2 separate regions of the Homo sapiens genome follow, and region 2 is linked to region 1. Evidence: promoter capture Hi-C in human tissues and cell types (Jung and others, 2019). All regions are on one chromosome and are shown on one strand. Each heading gives the region's core, a stretch centred on a gene start or on the middle of the fragment in contact. The rest is flanking DNA. Distances are from core to core; before and after follow the strand shown. Region 1 holds the start of NLRP8 (NLR family pyrin domain containing 8). Region 2 overlaps ZSCAN5A-AS1 (ZSCAN5A antisense RNA 1).

Region 1 (2,620 bases), core at 78-2,577:
AAGTTGGGGCAGGGGGGACAAAAATACACCCATGATCCTTTTTATTTTATTTCTTTTTTACATTTCTTTTAGATACAGGGGTACATGTGCAGGTTTGTTATATAGGCAAACGTGTTATGGGGGTGGGTTTGTTGTACAGGTTATCTCATCACCCAGGTATTAATCCCAGTACCCATTAGTTATTTTTCCTGATCTTCTCCCTCCTCCCACCCTCCAGCCTCTAGCAGACTCCAGTGTGTGGTGTTCCCTCTATGTGTCCATGTGTTCTCATCGTTTAGCTACCACTTATAAATGAGCACATGTGGTATTTGGTTTCCTGTTCCTGTGTTAGTTTGCTAAGGAATAATGGTCTCTGGCTCCATCTATGTTCCTGCAAAGGTCATGATCTCATTCTTTTTTATGGCTGCATAGTATTCCATGGTGTTTATGTACCACATTTTTTTATCCGGTCTATCACTGATGGGCATTTAGGTTGATTCCATGACTTTGCTATTGTGAGTAGTGCTGCAATGAACATACACAGGAATGTGTCTTTATAATAGAATGATTTATATTCCTTTGGATATATATCCAGTAATGGGATTGCTGAGTTGAATGGTAGTTCTCTTTTTAGGTCTTTGAGGAGTTGCCCCACTGTCATCCAGAGTAGTTGAACTAATTTACACTCCCACACACAGAGTATAAGTGTTCCTTTTTCTCTGCGACTTCACCAGCATCTGTTATTGCTTGACTTTTTAATAATCACCATTCTGACTGGTGTGAGATGACATCTCGTTGTGGTTTTGATTTGCATCTCTCTAATACATGATCCATTTTTTAAGAATACAGCATCTGTTATTGCTTGACTTTTTAATAATCACCATTCTGACTGGTGTGAGATGACATCTCGTTGTGGTTTTGATTTGCATCTCTCTAATACATGATCCATTTTTTTAAGAATAAAAACTTTGTTGAATTTGAGATCACTTTTAATCTAATGGAGCCTTCTAACCAACCATATATTTTCTAGATTTTAGCTTCACTGAATTATTTTACCTGCTTCTAATTTTTCTTTTCGCTAAACCTTTTGTGAAGGCTTTGATATTTTGCTTGCCTCTTCCCCAAAAGAAGTCATGGAGAATAGAAACTACAAACAATCCATTAGTCTAATGGACTAATCCCAAACATTCCATGCATCTTCAGTTTTTCCATAGGGCAGAGAATCTTTGAGGAAAGGAGGTAAAGGGAGTACCCGGCACGCAGAATACCTGCCAAGTAAGCATTACACGAATCTGTTTTCTTGGGTAGTGTTTTCATCTTCTTGTTTTATTGTTTTATGTCTCTGCAGGTCTCGTGTTTCTCTCTTCCAATCGGTTGTCTTTATCGTGGACACTGAGGTGTTCTCTGCCTTGACTAAAGATGAGTGACGTGAATCCACCCTCTGACACCCCCATTCCCTTTTCATCCTCCTCCACTCACAGTTCTCATATTCCGCCCTGGACATTCTCTTGCTACCCCGGCTCCCCATGTGAAAATGGGGTCATGCTGTACATGAGAAACGTGAGCCATGAGGAGCTACAACGGTTCAAGCAGCTCTTACTGACTGAGCTCAGTACTGGCACCATGCCCATCACCTGGGACCAGGTCGAGACAGCCAGCTGGGCAGAGGTGGTTCATCTCTTGATAGAGCGTTTCCCTGGACGACGCGCTTGGGATGTGACTTCGAACATCTTTGCCATTATGAACTGTGATAAAATGTGTGTTGTAGTCCGCAGAGAGATAAATGGTGAGTGTTGATCTGGTGGATAAAGTGGGGGTGGGCTTGGCTGCTGGGCAGCTAAACTACTCTAGTCACCACCCCTATCACTTATTGGCCTTCTGAGCAAGAAAGCAAACAGTGGAGGAAGATAATGGATCTAACCCAAAGGCAAAGACTGTCATACGGGCATTTTTTTAATTTTATTTTTCTGAGATGGGGTTTCGCTCTTCTTGCCCAGGCTGAAGTGCAATGGCACAATCTCGGCTCACTGCAAACCCCGCCTCCCAGGTACAGGTGATTCTCCTGCCTCAGCCTCCTGAGTAGCTGGGATTACAGGCACCCACCACCATGCCTGGGTAATTTTTTTTTATTTTTAGTAGAGACGGGGTTTCACCATGTTGGCCAGGCTGGTCTCGAACTACTGACCTCAGGTAATCCGCCTGCCTTGGCCCCCCAAAGTGCTGGGATTGCAGGTGTGAGCCACTGTGCCCAGCCCATATGGGCCTATTTTTTAAAAACTTAACTGAATACTGCTTATATGAGGTGAACGTTAAATGAAGTCATAGAGAAGTAGGAAGTAAAATAGTGGAAAAGCATATGCTATGGAAACAGCAGAAGACAGCTGGTATAGCTATGGTGATGTCAGGAGTGCTATATTTAAAGCAAGAAGGTTAAACACTTTAAAAGGCCATTTCGCAGCAACAAAGGGTGAATCCCACTGGAGGATATTGTAATCCAAAACCTCATCTTCAATATGAATAAAGCAGAGCTGGACTACAGTCATCCCCTTATCCAAGGTTTTGCTTTCTGAAGTTTGGGTTGATCATGGCCAAAAATAGATGAGTACAGTACACTGAGATATTCTGAGACAGAGAGAGACCA
Region 2 (2,620 bases), core at 90-2,589, 390 kb after region 1:
CAAGAAGCCCAAATAGCTCAAGACACAGTAGAAAACAGTGATAGAGCCCCCATTACACTGGATGATGATTATACCAGGACTATGGGTCTTTGTCTAGGGAGGAAGGAGATGTTTCCAACTAGATTCCAGAGATGGTCACTTGGATGAGGGGGCAAAGGTGACAACAGAATGAGATTTTAGGGTACCCAACAGGACCTTGGGTCCTGGCTGGCCTTGTAGCTTTCCCATCCTGCTAGCTGGCCTTGTAGCTTGGAAGGCCATGACCACAGTGAAAGTTTTGGCTGAAGCAGAAGACACAGCCACTGTGAACTGAACTGAAAAGGTGGCCTGTTCCCAGGGTTCAAAGCATATATGGAAGGAGAAAGCTTGACAGTGACGTAATGTATTTGGAGTGCAAAAATGCCTGCAGGGAATTCATTCTAAATGGGGAGAAATACAGAACAGGCCTTAGGAACAATGTGACCTGGGCATTGTCATCTTTTCATTGTAACTAATTACAGACTGCACTGGATTTGTGAGACATATGACAGCAAACCTTTTCTGTAAAGGGTAATAAATATTTACAGTTTGCAAACCAGAAGGTGTCTGTGGCAACTATTCAAGTCTTCTCTTGCAGATTGAAAGCCACTGTAAGCAATATGCAAAGGAGCAGTTGTAGCCGTATTTAGCAATATGCAAAGGAGCAGCTGTAGCCATATTTAGCAATATGCGAAGGAGCGGCTGTAGCCGCATTTAGCAATATGTGAAGGAGCGGCTGTAGCCGCATTTAGCAATATGTGAAGGAGCGGCTGTAGCCGCATTTAGCAATATGTGAAGGAGCGGCTGTAGCCGCATTTAGCAATATGTGAAGGAGCGGCTGTAGCCGCATTTAGCAATATGTGAAGGAGCGGCTGTAGCCGCATTTAGCAATATGTGAAGGAGCGGCTGTAGCCGCATTTAGCAATATGTGAAGGAGCGGCTGTAGCCGCATTTAGCAATATGTGAAGGAGCGGCTGTAGCCGCATTTAGCAATATGTGAAGGAGCGGCTGTAGCCGCATTTAGCAATATGTGAAGGAGCGGCTGTAGCCGCATTTAGCAATATGTGAAGGAGCGGCTGTAGCCGCATTTAGCAATATGTGAAGGAGCGGCTGTAGCCGCATTTAGCAATATGTGAAGGAGCGGCTGTAGCCGCATTTAGCAATATGTGAAGGAGCGGTTGTAGCCGCATTTAGCAATATGTGAAGGAGCGGTTGTAGCCGCATTTAGCAATATGTGAAGGAGCGGTTGTAGCCGTATTTAGCAATATGTAAAGGAGGAATTGCAGCCATATTTAGCCTGTGGGCCAAGATTTGCCTGCCCTTGCTCTAGATGACTTAGAGAACTCAACACCTGCCCACACTGACCCTTCCAATCTGTTCCTGGGGATTGTCTGATACTACTGTCTTGGGGAAAGTCTGAGCATTTTTCCCCTCCTCCATCCAAACCCAAAATGGACAGAGAAAACTCACTTTGTGCAAAATGGAAATCCAAATGGAAATTGGATTCCATTTGGATTTCCATTTTGCTATGGAGACTCATGCAACCTGTTCTGTGGCCAACTGGACCTAGAAGGATGGTGTTCTCTCAGAATTTGCAGGATAAAGTTACCCAAAGAGTAAACATGAGTTGAATGTCAACTTTCAGAAGGAATCATTTGAAAGCCCCCCTATCATCTTTCTGTCAGCAAAATGTCTCTCAAGGCAGTGCCTGCATTCAAAGTAGCAGTGGAGCCAGCAGGGCAGCTCTCACTGCAGACGGAATGAGAAAACTGGAGGAAGCAGAGTTCTAAGGTTAGATTGTCGGATCTCCAGGAGAACGAAGTTCAAAACCACTTTTCCTTTTCACAATTCTCTTGATTCTTCTCTTAGTATGAGTCAGGGTAGCAGGTCACATCAATGTCATGAAAGGAATACTAATGATAATAATTTAGGATATTTTTGGCTACAGCTAGAGAAATCTCAAACAAACAAGCTTAATCAGGAAAGCTTTTGACACATAGTTGGAAATGGAGGTACTTATGTGTTTCTGAAATCCTGTTTTTATTGGCTTCTCATTGGCTTTTTCATGATGGCAAAATTATACTTAGCTGTTAGAGCCTTCATATCCATGAACTACAATTTCTGTGGAATAAGAAGGAGATATACTGGAACTGAAGCTTTTGGTAACCTCGAATTTTCATTTTGGCAGGCAAACCAAAGAGAAGAAAGACTTTGTGCTTGAGAGTTGAAAATGAGACCACCTTGCCATGTCAATTCAGGTCTCTTAAAGTCTTCCCTTGCAGGAGAAGAGGGAAGTGAAAAGATCTTCTTGTGAACAGGGTCTGGTGTGGACCTCCAGCAAACTCCAACAGATTAATTCATTGACAGAATGGGATTGTCTTGTGAAAGGGAAATATCTTGGATCCCTTCAAGCTGGGAACCCCTCAGGGCAAATCTGCCTACTTCTGTCAATTCATCAATCTCATTCTCCGTCCAGTTTTGTGCCCTTGCTGGAGAGGAGTTGCCATCATTTGTCATACACAAGTATCAATAGCCAAATTGATCACGCAAAAGAAACGATATCAGAGATTGAAGATCAACTTACTAAAATAAGGCATGAAGA

What was found. Contacts are between HindIII fragments. The study calls those that stand out against the background at their distance.
Region 2: a contact is called between a fragment that was not itself captured here and the fragment with the promoter of NLRP8 in region 1, in 2 of the 25 tissues and cell types used here (spleen and thymus).

Annotation. Positions count from the first base shown.
Region 1 is chr19:55,946,505-55,949,124 of GRCh38, forward strand. It overlaps NLRP8 (NLR family pyrin domain containing 8), which reads left to right and starts at 1,328. Exons shown (of 10, transcript NM_001433706.1): 1 at 1,328-1,765. The coding sequence starts at 1,399. The HindIII fragment of the contact is 14,722 bases long and covers 1-2,620 here.
Region 2 is chr19:56,338,580-56,341,199 of GRCh38, forward strand. ZSCAN5A-AS1 (ZSCAN5A antisense RNA 1) reads left to right here. Exons shown (of 3, transcript NR_186830.1): 3 at 2,207-2,620. It also overlaps a transcript of ZSCAN5A not described here and the pseudogene VN2R18P. Among named protein-coding and RNA genes, the nearest start is that of ZSCAN5A, 25 kb to the left of the region's middle. The HindIII fragment of the contact is 4,392 bases long and covers 1-2,620 here.